Linked DNA regions of Homo sapiens: all the other regions are linked to region 2. Evidence: promoter capture Hi-C in 16 types of primary human blood cells and fetal thymus (Javierre and others, 2016). All regions are on one chromosome and are shown on one strand. Each heading gives the region's core, a stretch centred on a gene start or on the middle of the fragment in contact. The rest is flanking DNA. Distances are from core to core; before and after follow the strand shown.

Region 1 (2,700 bases), core at 70-2,569, 670 kb after region 2:
ATGGTGGAATTTATTGAGAATTATGATTTAAAACTATAATGATGTACATATTGCTTTTTGATAGGCAAATATTTAAAAATATTGTTTAATAATGACCTCTGTTTTCTAGGATGTGGGCGTGTCACTTGGCAAAAGCAGGCGTAATGGACAAAGAGAGTGGGGGTGGGGAGGTGCCACACCCTTTTAAATGACCAAGAACTCACACACTATCACGAAGACAGCACCAAGCCATGAGAGATCCACCCCCAGGATCCAAACGCTTTCAACCATCCCCTGCCTTCAGCACTGGGGATTGTAATCCAACATGAGATTTGGGTGGAGACAAATACCAAAACTGTATCAAACTGAGAACTTTGGAGCCAGGGAAAGGAGAGAGCTTACCATTGCTGAGAGACAGAAAGATATCTATCTATCTATCGATAGATAGAAAGATATCTATCTATCGATAGAGAGATAGATAGATAGACAGATAGATACATAGATACAAACTATATATATGTCAACCATATATATATCAACTATATATATATCTTTATATATATATAGAGGGAGAGAGAGAAGAAACATAAATATTTGAGCAAGTTTTTCTCATAGATGTGTCATTACTAAACTTTTATTCCTTGGTTAGGAAATGGAGCTGATCCATAATGCACAGTTGAGATTCTAAATTTCATGTTAAAAAATTAGCTATAATAAATGAAATGAGAGGACTAAATATATTATAAAGTTATATTAATATACATGAATTAGTTACACAAGTTAAGACAGTTTATTACCAATGAATGAACAAATTAAATGGAACCAAATAAAAACTGAAGAGAGAGTTCTGAAAATATCAAAATTTAGTATATGATAAACAAAATATTTCAAATCAGTTGGAAATATTGAATTTAATGAGTATTGGGAAAACCAGATATTCATTCTGGGAAAGAAGAAAAAATCAGATAAATTAGATTAGCTTTTCACATCTTAGACACTGGTTATTTAAAAATGAATTAGAGATTTAACTATAAAAAAGGTAAATAGAAGTGTTTTTAAAATGGAAAATAATTGTTTTATAATTTTGCATAAGAAAGACCTTTCTAGATATTACACATAACCTGGAAGTCATATTAAAGAAACATTTTAACAAATTCAACTACCAAGCGTGCACACATGTACACAGACACACATGTGAAATCTTCTTTCACAGAAAAATGCATCATGAAGAAATACAAACAAAGAGAAAACAGTTTAAAAGTATTTACAATGAATATTAGACAAAAAGCTAATTTCTGTCTCATAGAAAGGGGCACTACACTTGATAAGGAAAATGATCAACAACCCAAAGAAGATATAAATATTTTATAAACATAAAATAGGAGTGGCTCTTAAGTATGTGAAAATATTCCTAGCTGCTCTCATAATAAGATAATTATGATTTAAACCTATATTGAGATACATATTACCTTTTGATAGGCAAATACTTAAAAATACTATTTGATCGTGAACTCTGTTTTCTAGGATGTGGGGAAACAACTTTCATAGAAATGTAACTTTTTACAACCACTGTGGAAAGTCATTTGGCAACACCTGTCAGAGTTATAAACACCTGCTCATTTAATTCTGGAATTTAACTTCTGAAATACATTATGTAGATAAACTTTGTGCATGCAAAACGACTTGGATGTAAAGTTCCTCACTGCAGTTTTATGTAAAAAAGCCAAAGATAGGAAATAATCCCATGTCCATCAAGATGGGACATGGTTACACCATGTTGCATCCACTGCTAAAGAAAATAATGAGGAAGTTTTTTATGCACTGGCATAAATTAATTTCCATGTTTTTTGATAAAAGCATGTTCATGTGGGCACATATACACCCATACATACTTTTATACACGTATCGGTTTAATACACACAATTACTCTAGAAGTGTATGCAGACCACTGATAAGCTGTTGCCTCAGAGTGAAAAACTAGGTACTTGGGAGTGGGGGCAGCAGGAAGATTTTTACTGTAAATCCTGTTGCACCCTTGGGATTGTGCACCATGTGAATGCATTGCCTTTTAAATAGTAAATTCAGGAAAACACGGTAAGAAATTTGAAATTGAGTCTCACAAAATCTGAGCAGTTCTTTAGAATCCACCATTGCTAAGGTGACTGAGACAGCCTAGAGTCTACTTGGTAAAAATGGGATTTTGTTGATTCTTCTAGTCACTGTGAACTGCTATTAAAAATCATTAAGTTATATTATCTGATTCTGTTTGACTTAGTATGTTTTTGAGCCTTTTCTGTTTCTACCAGCATCTCAACTATTTCTGGTTCAATGTTTCTGATTCAAATGCTTTTGGAAAGACTCTAAGATTGGTCCAATTACTGCCATCATCTCTGCAAGTCACTTCTTTCATACCAGATAATTATTTGCCATTGTCAGTCTATACATTGACTCACCTTTGTTGGTGACCCATTCTTGGGCAATCGTTTATGGTCAGGTAGACTACAATTTCAGTTATATGCAGTAATAATTCTCAATAATGTCAATGTTATTGGCCCCACTTCTCCTGCCTGCCAGCATTTGTTTGCTGCCCCCACAAAAGACCTCAACAAAAATACCTAATCTCTATTTCAACTTCTCTTTTCAATTGCTATTAAATCCATTCCAATCAAGCTTTGGTCCTCTACTAATCTACTAATACTACTTATCTCAAGGTCACCACTG
Region 2 (2,700 bases), core at 93-2,592:
TTGTAGAAGATAATGTTTAAGCTGCAATCTGAATTATAAAAGGAGGTTGCTATATAAAGATCAAAAAGACTATCCCAGGCAGAAGGAATACTATTTAGATAGTAGAGAAAAGTGCACTGAGACAAAGCGACACAAGGTCAAAGCAATTTGTGAGCCAGTTGGCAGGTCCTCACTGTATGGAAAGCTACAGGTTGACTATGATGGCTGCCCCCATGTTCCTCTCTGTTACCCAATGTTTCAAAAGGAAGATAAATTTAACTTGAAACTTGTCAAGTTTGAGATATTTGTGAGATAATCAGGTAGTAATATCCAGCACTAAGTAGATAACATGAGAGAAGAACTCTGAACATCTTAATTGCTCTACACAAAATCTATCAGTCAGCCAATTCTTACTTATTGACAGCTGTGTGGATGCTATCATGGCAAGTACTATGGAACATACAAGAAAATGTAAAAATAGACAGAATATTTTATTTATAAGGACTTTTGCCTTAAAAAATATTTCTAGGTTCATGTACCAAGATGGAAATCATAGGACAAAATACCCATGTGAGAAGAAATCATGAGATGCACTTAACGTTCAAGCATCCTTGGTAAGAATAATCTGACAAATAGCTAAGATATACTGGTTGGATGGAAAACATGGGATCTTTGGTTAGATGAAAGAAGATATGGCTGGGCGCAGTGGCTCATGCCTGTAATCCCAGCACTTTGGGAGGCCAAGGCGGCTGGATCATCTGAGGTCAGGAGTTCGAGACCAGCCTGTCCAACAAGGTGAAACCCCATCTCTACTAAAAATAAAAAAATTAGCTGGGCATGGTGCTGGGCACCTGCAATCCCAGCTACTCAGAAGGCTGAGCCAGGAAAATCTCTTGAACCCTGGAGGCGGAGGTTGCAGTGAGCCAACATCGTGCCACTGCACTCCAGCCTGGGTGACAGAGTGAGACCCTGTCACAGGGAAAGAAAGAAAGAAGATATGAATTGTATGGATGCTTTAAAATGACCAAAATAATAGTAGGATGATCATTTCTGACTATGAAAAAGTTTCATACACACACATTTTTGTTTCCATCTTTACCACAAACTATTCTTTCTAAGATGGAGAAGTGTTTTATATTCTTCACAAGCTTCAATTGTTTTCATAATCTCTAATACTTTTGCTTTGACTTACTTTAATTCCTTAGATGCTGTTTTGAGTGGGCCCCATCCAGTCAGTTGAAGTCCTTAAGAGAAAAGACTGAAGTCTTCTGAAGAGGATAGGATAAAGCTTTCAGATACAAGGTATCAATTTTTTGCCAGAATTTCCAGCCTTCTAGTCTGGCTTGTGGATTTTGGAAGTGCCAGTCACCACAATTACATGAGCGTGTTTTCTCTTTCTCTCTCTACATACACACACACACACACACACACACACACACACACACACGGCCTATTGATTCTATTTCTCTAGGGGAACCTAATATACCTGGCAAGACAGACGTTATGTGATGAATAGTACAAAGAGTGACTATTCTAGTATCTAAGAAGACTGAGGAAGAACATTGTGATCTAAAATGGTTTCGCCCACAGATGAGGATGGCCCTGAGGTTAGTTTCTGGAGGAAGGCTAAGGTTTCAGTAAGTAGAAAAATGTGGAGGAGGAACAAGGGCATAGTTTTAGGAATGCAAGGTGAATTATCTCATGGTAGAGAAATGAGAACGGTTTGGATAGGATGGACTGTTCATGCAGAAATGGAGAGAGAGATAAGGTACATACGATTGTAAAAGGCACTGAACCAATTTTTAGGACAACTTTTATAATTTTCTGGAATGAAAGAGACAAAGCCATTGGTATTTGGTACAATTAACCTGATTATTTGACATTACAGCCATGGATATACTGGAAGGACTTGGGGAAACACAAGATTTAAGTAGACTCATTAAAATCTAGTTTGATAGCAGTAAGTAAGACTATTTGAGAGGTATTTTTAAGGCGGTAGGTAGGTAAAGAGGACAAGGAAGAAGAAATAAAAAAAATATAAGTTCAGCGATCAAACTTTTAAAAGTTGTAACAAAAGAGTAGTAAAGATGGTAATAGAGAAGTTATGAGACAGAATTGGTTTTGGGGAAATGGTAACATTCAGTTTAAATATGCAAATTTGGGTTGATATTGGTGTCCAAGTGAAAATATCTGGCAAACAGATGTAAATGTGGCACTAATAATTAGGAAAATTGCCAACCTAGAGATAAACTTGCAATTGTCATATGCACAGAAGGAATAATTAATTTTGCTTTAAAAATCTCATGATGTCATCTAAATGCACAGAAGTGGTGTAATGTAGCTAAAAGTGTTACTTCTAGAGCAGAGCCATCCAACAGAACTTTCTGCAATAATTGAGATATTCTCCACACATCCAATATCCTAGCCGCTACACATATGTGGCTATTGAGCGCTTTTAATGTGCCTAGTGAGGGAGCTGAATTTTGAGTTTTATATAATTTTAATTAATTTATTTTATTTATTCAGCTTTAATATGTATAATTGACAAATACTATTGTCTATATTTAAGGTTTACAACATGATGATGTGATATACATATACATTGTGAAATGATTACTGCAATGAGCACATCCATCACTTCACATATTTACGTGTTTGTGTGTGTGCGTGTCTGGTGAGAACGCTTAAGATCTACTCTCTTAGCAAATTTCAAATATACAA
Region 3 (2,700 bases), core at 148-2,647, 600 kb after region 2:
GATATGACTACTCAGAAAAGCAACTGGGGGCCTGACGCGGTGGCTCATGCCTGTAATCCCAGCACTTTGGGAGGCCGAGGCAGGCTGATTGCTTGAGCTCAGGAATTCGAGACAAGCCTGGCCAACATAGTGAAACCCCTTCTCTACTAAAAATACAAAAAATTAGCTGGGTGTGGTGGCGAAGGCCTGTAGTCCCAGCTACTCAGGAGGCCGAGGCAAGAGAATCGCTTGAGCTTGGGGGGCGGAAGTTGCAGTGAGCCAAGATCGGGCCACTGCACTCCAGCCTGGGAGACAGAGCAAGACTCCATTAAAAAAAAAAAAAAAGGCTGGGCGCGGTGGCTCATGCCTGTAATCCCAGCACTTTGGGAGGCCGAGGCGGGTGGATCACGAGGTCGGGAGTTCAAGACCTGCCTGGCCAAGATGGTGAAACTCCGTCTCTACTAAAAATACAAAAAATTAGCTGGGCGTGGTGGTAGGCACCTGTAATCTCGGCTACGTGGAAGGCTGAGGCAGAGAATTGCTTGAACCCAGGAGGCGGAGGTTGCAGTGAGCCGAGACCACGCCACTGCACTCCAGTCTGGGCGACAGAGTGAGACTCTGTCTCAAAAAAAAAAAAAAAAAAAAAAAAAAGCGACTGGGCAATGTCAATACAAATTAAAACTATATATACCCCTTGGCCTAGCAATCCTACTTTTGGAATTTAACCTATAGAAGTGAAAGCCTCATGCTGGGCACGGTGGCTCATGCCTATAATCCCGGCACTTTGGGAGGCCGAGGTGGATGGCTCATTTGAGGTCAGGAGTTCCAGACCAGCCTAGTCAACATGGTAAAACCTTGTCTCTACTAAAAATACAAACATTAGCCTGGCGTGGTGGTGCATGCCTGTAATCCTACCTACTCGGGAGGCTGAAGCAGGAGAATGGCTTCAGCCTGGGAGGCGGAGGTTGCAGTTCATGGAGATCGAGCCACTGCAATCCAGTCTGGGCGACAGAATGAGACCCTCTTGTCTCAAAAAAAAAAAAAAAAAAAAAAAAAAAGAAGTGAAAGCATCAATACATAAGATGTTTGTTTCAGCACTGTTCATAGAGGCAAAATGAAAAAGAAGAAAAAAAAAGAAAGAAAAGTATTAATGGCTAAAACTTCTTATGTAATATCATTCCATTTATGTAAAATTTTTACATGAGTGCATAAGGGATTCATGAAAAGAAAATCACAACATATTAATAGTGTTTATTAAATCTCATGATAATTGGATTTCCATTGATGTTTTACTTTATTATTTTATGTATTATTGGAAGTCTATCAATAAACATGTGTTGTAAAATATATATTAGGTTGGTGCAAAAGTAATGGCACAAACTGCAACTACTTTTGCACCAATCTAATAATTAAAAATAACATTATGGGGGTTTTTTGTAGAATAATGAAGCAAAACCAAAAAAGTGAATATTTTATCAGGGCTAATATTTTATTTGCTATGCTGATGTGAAGCATCACGTATGAAGTTTTATTAAAATTGAATCTTATAAAATGAGTCAGCAATTTTTATCATGATTAATAAATATACAATTATGAATCATCTTCCAAGGTCACAAAGAACAGAGGCAGAATTTCCAAAATAGTTGACCATGCCCGAAGATGCCTTTTCTTATCTGGCAAAGAGAAAGCCACTTCAGAATAAAGGTTACAATCATATGCCTTGGCATTCACAAAGCCACTGATGTATTCCTTCATCAATTCAAATTTAAGCTCCATTATAATGTAAGTGCATAAGGGCAAAGGCTTCATTTATCTCATTCCCAGTCATCTGCCCAGTAGCTAGCACAGTGACTGCCTCATCACAGAAACTCAATAAATATTTAATAAAGGAGGGAATGAACTTACACATTCATCCAAGACATAACTTTTTTACTTTTGTTATTTTATTATTTAATATTCACTCTAAATTTTCCCATACGTATTTGTTTAGTAATGACTATGTTCAAAGAAGTTAAACATGAATATTAGAGTAAGTAACTAGAACAAATACTAATTTGAGTCTTTCTATGTATCAGGTATTGTTCTAAGGGCTTTATTTATATTAGCTTATTTAATAATCGGAGAATATTACTCCAACTTTACAAATGGTAATGCGGAGGCACTTCATTTGTCTAAGTTTCCACAACTACCAAGTTGCAGACCCAGGATTTGACTCCAGGTAATCTATGTCTACAGTCAACCTTTCCCTCCAATCATATACTAAATCTCTAAGAATATAAGGATGCTGAAAACTGCTAGACCAGACATTCACAACTGACACAGCTTGGTTTTATTTTCTCTGCTAATGAAGGGTTGGCTTCATTGTTACTTAAGCAGCCTCAGAGCAGTGCAGTCCATGGAGATAGTTTGGTTAGGTAGGAGGTAGAACAGATGTGAACAACTTGCCTTGTAAACCAGTTGGGTAAAGATAATTAACAAGAGAAAAACGAAATGATGCCTTGAGTCTAGGGAGACAAAGGGCAAAGGCCAGATCAGAAGGCCAGAGGCCCATGTGAGGATAGATTTGAGAGGATGAGGTTTGACTAAGGTGAAGAGGAGCAGGCAGATGTGATTGACCCTGTACACAGAAGTACAAACCAGAATATTGGTGTTTAGACAAGAAAAAGAGCTCGGCCTAGGGAAATTGCCAAGAATTAAGTATCAGTTCTATGTAACAGCAAG
Region 4 (2,700 bases), core at 138-2,637, 770 kb after region 2:
TACTTAGGGGGTTAAGTAGCTTATCCAATATATAAAAAACTAACTAAATTCTAGATCTAGGGTTAAATTTATGTTAGTCCAGTTCTAACCTCTCAGCTGAACATAGGGATTTTCTGTATTTAAGAAATTCTAGTAAAAAATATTTATAAAAATAACATTTCGGTCCTGTTGACACATTGATGAAGGTAAAGAGAAGAGATAAATGGTTGCAAGATTATGTCTGGATTTGAAAATTTTAAAAGAAAATGCAAAGGTTAGAAATATATAACATTGTACCTAATTCACATTTTAACTGCAACTTAGGCCTGAAAAAGCAACAGTCTGATTAATAAACAAATTTCTCCAGAATGTGTTAAAGTATGTAATATATGTAAATCTTTAATTAACCATGCCCCTTAACTTTTGGAAATTAAATATTAATGCAAAAGCTTTGTTCCATAAGTGAAATTAAATTATTTGGAGATGTTATACACATTTGCAAACTGTAGTTAAATTGTGGTCCTTTGAACACACTAACATTTTATTTTCCTTTGGCATCAATTCTTGGTGTTCACTATTCTTAATGGGAAACAATTATAAATGAATTATTTAAACCTGTAGTTTTAGGAACCTAGAAGAATCCTTATGATTATCAAAGCAAAGACTCCAGCAGACAGCTAGAAAGAAAAAAAATATGGACCAATGAGATTTTCCATATTCCTTTTTGTTTTTAAAACTTAATCTAACAACACCTGATATGTTAAGGTTAATATATCACTAACTTAGTCTTTAAATTATCTTAATAATTTTACTTTTGTGAGGACTACTAGTCCATCTTCTATATAGCTTCTATTTCTTTACTATGACAATTGGTCCAATATGACACAACATTTTTATTACCAGTGGTGTATTAGTAAAGATCCAATTATAGCATTTGGTAATAGTTTACTTTTATTGAATCTAACATTATTGGTTGTCAGATTAATACATTATTTTATGTTTATTAATAATAAATGAATTATTATTTTATATACTGCTGGGAAAGAAAAAAACACTTCTGCTTCAATTATAACTCAATTGTTTGTCCCTTAGCATTTTATATTATCCCTAAATAACTATTTTAGATATATTTAGACATAATTTTATACTATAATCCCTCATGCCTATATGAAAAGATAAATGTAAACAAAATAATTGTTTGAAACATTTCTAAATTTTTTTCTCAGTATTTCATTTTCCTGAGTCACTTTTTAACTCAGTCCTTAATATCCAGATTTTTCTCCCAGTAGCATCTTCTCTGCAATGAAGAACAAAAGTTATGCAACATTTTTTAAAATAATAGAATTTATTCTAAACCAAACATCATGCATTCCACAAATTTTAGTACTATCACTTTCTTTATCTTGCCAGGAAGTGTCAAAGTACCTATATATTTTCTCGGTAATATGAACCATCAAACTGGGTTCTCATGATACTGCAAGGTATCATGAAGCAAAGCTAATGGAGGGAACACAAACTTTGAGATCAGAAATAGCTGGTATAAATTATTGCTCTGTGTTTAAATTAGGAAATTTTAATGAACCTCTTTGATCATCAATATCTTCATTTGTAAAGTAAGGGGGATGATGCTTGCATACAAGATCTTGTGAGTATTGGAGATAATGTAAAGCCCTTTGCCCAGCACCTGGTACATAGCAGGCAGTTGCATATTTCTAATGGCAGGCACTTAATATATTTCTAATGCTAATGTTAGAAGAAATGTGAATCTTCTGCTAATGAGTATAAAAAGTTAGTTATGCAGTCTGGTTTGACTTTTGATATTACAGTGAATTTAAGCATTACTTTTCCCATCTTAATTTGGACATTATTCTTTCTCAAACTTATTTTAATTCTAACCCAAAAGCAGATATTATATTTAGCCATTCTTGCTTGCTAGTCCAAATTTTACATGTATATTTTGAATAGACCTATTTTTTCTACAAATTTGACATTAAAGAATATCTATTTTAAGAAAATATATAATTTATTAATTAGAAATTCATATTTTAGGTAATTTGAATAACTGTCAAAGTAATTGCATTTTAACATGGTGGCAAGAAAAGCATGGAAGAAAAGATAAATTGATAATTACATACTTTCACATTTTTGAAAGGAGAAAACAAATTATGAAGTGTTTTAGGAAGATATTTGCTATATAATATGACTTAATCCATATAGTCATGAAATCTGAAGCATGGTTGTCCTAGATAGGGTAATAATTTGTCACCTCTTCAAAACCACTGAAGGGAAATTGCTTATCATTCACAAAATCCCATTCTTCCTTTTTCCTATATAATATATCTGTGGCTAGTTGACCAACTAAGCTTTCTTTGCCTCTAATGAAGTCCTGAGTGATTTCTAGGATTTAAGACATTACACACACCTCCTCCACACTCTCTTCTTCCTTACTGCTTGCTGGAAACTGAACATAGCCACTGTCCAGCTTCCACCATACCAATGCCGACCATCTTGCCTGGGCTGCAGGGGCTGGGAAAGTAAAGCTTGTAGGCCAATCTAGCCCATGATCTTTTTGTGTGGTTGCAAGCTAAGCATGGTTTTTACATTTTAAAGGATTTATAATAAGAACATAAATAAGCAGAATTGCACAACAGAGACTGTACGTGGGCTGCTCAGCCTAAAATATATACTGTGATCCTTCACAGAAGAAAAAAGTTTGCAGAT
Region 5 (2,700 bases), core at 187-2,686, 700 kb after region 2:
CAAAATATGACTGGTCCCTGGCCAGGCACTGCGGCTCACACCTGTAACCACAGCACTTTAGGAGGCTGTAGTGGGTTGATCACCTGAGGTCAGGAGTTAGAGAAGAGCCTGGCCAACAGGGCATAACCCTGTCTCTACCAAAAATACAAAAATTAGCTGGGCATGGTGGCAGATGCCTGTAATCCCAGCTACTCAGGAGGCTGGGGCAGGAGAATCACTGGAACTGGGGAGGTAGAAGTTGCAGAGAGCCGCGATTGTGCCACTGCACTCCAGCCAGGGTGACAGAGTGAGACTCCATCTCAAAGGAAATAAATAAAATAAAATAAAATATTACTGCTCCTTGACAGTGTACCTGGTCACTCAAGAGCCGTAATAGAGTTATGCAAAAATATTAATGTTGTTTTCATGTGTGCTAACACAACATTCATTCTATGGCCCATGGATCAAGAAATCATTTGACTTCCAAGTCAGATTATTTAAGAAATACATTTTGTAAAGCTATTGCTGCTATAGATAGTAATTCTTCATATGAATCTTTGCAAAGTAAACTGAAAACCTAGAAATGATTCACCATTCTAAACGTCTTTAAGAACATTCATGATTTGTAGAAGAAGGTCAACATGTCAATATTAACAAGAATTTGGAAGAAGTTCATTCCATCCCTCATGGATGACTTTGAGGGGGTCAGGAATTCAATGGAGGAAGTCACCGATTATGGGATAGGAATAGCAAAAGAACTGCTGAAGATATTGTGAACATTGTTGAAATGGCAACAAATGATTTAGAATATTACATAAACTTAGTTGATATAGAAACAGCAGGGTTTAAGAGGACTGACTCCAATTTTGAAAGTTATTCTGTGGATCAAATGCTATAAAACAAGATTTCATGCTCTTTTGTGATAGGAAAAGCCAATCGATATGGCAAACTTCAATGCTGTCTTATTTTAAGAAATTGCCACTGCCACCTTGGCCTTCAGCAACCACAACCATAATCAGTCAGCAGTCATCAACACAGAGGCAAGACACTCAACCAGGAAAAAGATTATGGCTTGTTGAAGGCTGAGATGATTGTTAGCATTTTTAGCAGTAAAGTATTTTTTAATTAAGGTATGCACATTGATTTTTTAAACATAATGCTATTGTACATTTAATATACTATTGTATAGGGTAAACATAACTTTTATATGAACTGAGAAGCTAAAAACTTCAGTGATTTGCTATATTGTGATACTTGCTTTATTGTGGTAATGTGAACTGAGCCCACAACATCTCTGAGTCGTGCCTGTAGTTGATTACTAGTTGATGTAGAATAAAAGTACACAAAATTTCAAATGTGTGACAGTCATAATTTTTTATTTAAAGAACCACTTTGTAGATTGAGTTAAAATTGTTAGCATTAGACTCAGTGCTTCTCAGGGAAGCATAGAAAAGTGGGTTATGGGAAGCACATTAAGTATTGTATAAAAAATTTAAGATCATTTGGAGGGCTTAAAGCATTTGTCCCATCCAGACTCTTATTTTTGAAAGTATTAATTTTCCATGCTTATACTAGGGGTGAGGGGAGCAAAAGAAAGGAATGGAATTGAAAAGTATGTGCTGATAATCAGGTACCCACTAGTAAAAGCTAGAGATTATAACTGTATATTTCTTTAAACATTTAAAATAATATTTTAGCTACTACCAATAAGTAGATATTGTAATTGTGAATGTTCAAAGCTAATCTTTGCAGACACAACACCAACAACAAAATAATATTTATCCCTTCAAGTTCATAGTGGGAATATCTCTATATTTCTAAAAAGAGCCCAAGAAATGCTGAAAAGCCAGTAACATAAAGAAAAATATAAACGAAGTTGGTGTAAAACAAAAATCATTACTGAACAAAGACAATAAGATACATATCTTAAAAATAGAAATTTATTCTGAGCTACACTATATAGGAAGGTATTTTAAGGTATTAAAATAACATTCATGAATTGTTCCTGCCATCCCAGCACAAGACTCTGTTACAGCAGCCTTTTGTACAGGTCACAGGGGACCAACTTGTTGGCAATACCTAGCAACAAGTCTCCCTAAATGACTTCTGCCAACAATGCCTTCTGGTCCTCAGCAAGACTTGTTAATCAGGGCTCATTGGCTCTCTTTCCTTTGATTTGTAGCCTAAATTCACAGTTGAGGGGAAAAGGAAATCAATACAGATCTACATACTGTATATTAGAAATAGATCTTTGCTAATTATGTTTTAATACAAAATATATTTATTAAGTTTTTCCATATTTGACTCTGTATTGTTTAATGACACATTTCAAAAACAGATATGTCTATAGAAAATGTTATATTTTAGATTATTAATTCCATGAAAGACAGAGACCATGATGTATAAATATTGAACTGAGGTGGCAGTAGACATACTCTTTGAAAATGTAATAATAAAATACTGCTGTTAATACTTATTATCATTGGTTACATTTATTAATAACATTCTTTTGTTAGGTACCATCTATAAACCAGGAATTATGGGTTTTTTTATTTTAGTGGGTACATACTTGGTATAAATACTTATGAGGTATTTTGATATGGGCACAAACTGTGTAATAATCACATCGTAGTAAATGAGGTATCCATCACTTCAAGCATTTATCTTTTATTTGTGTCACAAAAAATCCAATTATTCCCTTTTGGTTATTTTTAAATGTAC
Region 6 (2,700 bases), core at 177-2,676, 640 kb after region 2:
TTTCATATGTTGCCAGTGAATTCTACCATACATCTAAGGAGGAAATTGTATCCGTTCTCTACAATCTCTTCTTAAAGATAGAAGGAGAAGGAATACTTCTTAACTTACTTTGTGAGGTCAACATTATGCTAATACCAAAACCAGACAAAGACATTACAAGAAAACTACAGACCAATAGTTCTCATAAATATAGATGTAAAGTCCTCAACAAAATAATAACAAAACAAAATTAAATCTAACTATGCATAAAAATAATTATATGGCATAACCAGGAAATTTATCTCAAATATGCAAGGCTCATTTAACATTGAAAAATTAATTAAGGTAAGTAATCATATTAACAGTCTAAAAATCACAGGATCATATCCATAAATGCATAAAAAATACTTGATGAAAATCTAACACTCATTCAAATCTGAGAGTTTTTGCTGAGAGACAAATAACTCAGCAAACTAGGAATAGAGGAAAACTTTATTAACTGGATAAATAATATACACACAAAAATATCTTATGCTGACATCATACTTAATGGTGAAAATCTAGACAATTTCCTGCAAAAATAAGGAAAAACGAAAGGGAGTTCCTCTTACCTTTCTTTTTCAAGATCATATTGGTAGTCTGAGCTAATGCAATACTTTTGTTTTTTATAAAAAGAAATAAAGACAGGCATATTGGGAAGGAAGAAATAAAACTGTCTTTATTTTCAGATGACATACTTATCTATGTGGAAAAACCAAAAGAATTAACAATATTTTTCTGAAATTAATAAGTGATTACAGCAAGGTTGCATGATACAAGATTAATATAAAAAAGTCAATCATTTGTCTATATACCAGCAATGAGTAAGTGGAATTTGAAATTAAAAACATTATGCCATTTACATTAGTACTCCCTCCAACAGTGAAATACTTAGTATAAATCTAACAAAATATGTACAAGATTTATATAAGCAAAACTGCAAAACTCAAATATCAAAGAACTAAATAAATGGAGAGATATTTCATGTTTGTGGATAGGAAGGTTCAGTATTATCAAGATGTCAGTTCTTCCTAACTTGATATATAGATACAACACAATCCCAATCAAAATCTCAGTAAGTTATTATGTGAACAAACTGATTCAAAAATTTATATGGACAGACAAGAGAACTAGAATAGCCAATTCAATATTGAAGGAGAAGAACAAAGTTAGAGGACTAACACTATTGATTTCAAGACTTACTATAAAGCTACAGTCATCAAAATGTACGGTGCTGGTGAAAGAATAGACAAATAGATCAATGGAACAAAATAGAAAGCCCTAAAATAGACCCACATAAATATAGTCAACTGATCTGCAAAAAAGGAGCAAAGATGATACAATGGAGCAAAAACAGTCTTTTCCACAAACAGTGCTAGGACAATTAGACATTCACATGCAAAAAAAAAAAAAAAAAAAAAAGAAAAGAATCTAGACATAGACCTTACACCTTTCACAAAAATTAGGATGGATTACATATGTAAATACTGTAAATGCAAAACTATTATAAAAAATATACAGAAAACTCTTAAACTCCACAACAAGAAAATTAAAAACACAATTTAAAAAGAGCCAAGATCTTGACACCTCACCAAAGAAGATATATGGATGGCAAATAAACATATGAAAATATGTTCCACGTTATATGTCATAAGAGAAATGCAAACTGAAACAACAATGAGAAACCACTACACATCTACTAGAATGGCCAAAATCCAGAACACTAACACAAAATGCTGGTGAAGATGTGAAGCAGTGGAAACTCTCAGTCATTCCTGATGATATGGTACATCCATTTCTGTCTCAGTCATTGCTGGTGATATGGTAGAGCCAATTTGAAGACAGTTTGGTGGTTTCTTACAAAACTAAACATACTCTTAGCATACAACCCAGCAGTCATGCTTCTTGGTATTCATCCAAAGGAGTTGGAAACATATGTTCACAAAGTCCTGCACATGGATGTTTATAGCAGCTTTCTTCATAATTACCCAAATTTGGAAGCAACAAAGATGTCCTGCGGTAGGTAAATGGATAAATAAATGTAATACATACAGACAATGGAATGTTATTCACTAAAAAGAAATGAGCTATCAGGCTGGGCGTGCTGGCTCACACCTGTAATCTCAGCACTGTGGGAGGCTGAGGCAGGCGGATCACGAGCTCAGGAGATCGAGATCAGCCTGGCTAACACAGTGAAACCCCTCCAACCAAAAATACAAAAAATTAGCCGGGTGTGGTGGCATACACCTGTAGTCCCAACTACTCGGGAGGCTGAGGCAGGAGAATCACTTGAACCCAGGAGGTGGAGGTTGCAGTGCGCGGAGATTGCGCCACTGCACTCCAGCCTGGACGATAGAGCAAAACTCTGTCTCAAAAAAAAAAAGAAAAAAAAAAAAAGGAAAGAAAAGAAAAGAAATTAGCTCTCAAGCCATGAAAAGACAAAGAGGTAGCTTAAATGCACATTACTTAGTAAAAGAAGCCAATCTGAAAAGGCTATATACCATACGATTTCAAAATATGGCATTCTGGAAAAAACAAAACTATGGATATAGTAAAAAGTGGTTTCCAAGAGTTAAGGAGGCAGGAGGGAAGAAGAGTTGAAGCACAGAAAATTTTTAGGGAAGTGAAACTATTTTGTATGATGCTACAATAGTGGCTACATGTCATTATTCATTTGTCAAA

Evidence for each region. Contacts are between HindIII fragments. The CHiCAGO score rates a contact against its expected background, and 5 or more counts as called.
Region 1: a contact is called between a fragment that was not itself captured here and the fragment with the promoter of ABCB5 in region 2, in 1 of 17 cell types (M2 macrophages). The highest score is 6.0, in M2 macrophages.
Region 3: a fragment that was not itself captured here is called in contact with the fragment with the promoter of ABCB5 in region 2 in 1 of 17 cell types (monocytes); the score reaches 5.0 in monocytes.
Region 4: a fragment that was not itself captured here is called in contact with the fragment with the promoter of ABCB5 in region 2 in 1 of 17 cell types (M2 macrophages); the score reaches 5.4 in M2 macrophages.
Region 5: a fragment that was not itself captured here is called in contact with the fragment with the promoter of ABCB5 in region 2 in 1 of 17 cell types (M2 macrophages); the score reaches 5.2 in M2 macrophages.
Region 6: a contact is called between a fragment that was not itself captured here and the fragment with the promoter of ABCB5 in region 2, in 1 of 17 cell types (M2 macrophages). The highest score is 5.3, in M2 macrophages.

What each region holds. Positions count from the first base shown.
Region 1 is chr7:19,945,603-19,948,302 of GRCh38, reverse strand. The region is part of intron 5 of MACC1-OT1 (MACC1 3' UTR overlapping transcript 1); the gene reads left to right. Among named protein-coding and RNA genes, the nearest start is that of TMEM196, 170 kb to the right of the region's middle. The HindIII fragment of the contact is 2,664 bases long and covers 1-2,651 here.
Region 2 is chr7:20,614,309-20,617,008 of GRCh38, reverse strand. ABCB5 (ATP binding cassette subfamily B member 5) reads right to left here and starts at 1,342. Exons shown (of 28, transcript NM_001163941.2): 1 at 1,172-1,342. The HindIII fragment of the contact is 15,833 bases long and covers 1,270-2,700 here.
Region 3 is chr7:20,015,708-20,018,407 of GRCh38, reverse strand. All of the region lies in intron 3 of MACC1-OT1 (MACC1 3' UTR overlapping transcript 1), which reads left to right. Among named protein-coding and RNA genes, the nearest start is that of MACC1-OT1, 120 kb to the left of the region's middle. The HindIII fragment of the contact is 6,253 bases long and covers 1-2,700 here.
Region 4 is chr7:19,841,202-19,843,901 of GRCh38, reverse strand. No RefSeq gene overlaps it. Among named protein-coding and RNA genes, the nearest start is that of TMEM196, 69 kb to the right of the region's middle. The HindIII fragment of the contact is 1,914 bases long and covers 431-2,344 here.
Region 5 is chr7:19,911,521-19,914,220 of GRCh38, reverse strand. No RefSeq gene overlaps it. Among named protein-coding and RNA genes, the nearest start is that of TMEM196, 140 kb to the right of the region's middle. The HindIII fragment of the contact is 4,445 bases long and covers 1-2,700 here.
Region 6 is chr7:19,973,027-19,975,726 of GRCh38, reverse strand. All of the region lies in intron 3 of MACC1-OT1 (MACC1 3' UTR overlapping transcript 1), which reads left to right. Among named protein-coding and RNA genes, the nearest start is that of MACC1-OT1, 170 kb to the left of the region's middle. The HindIII fragment of the contact is 4,567 bases long and covers 1-2,700 here.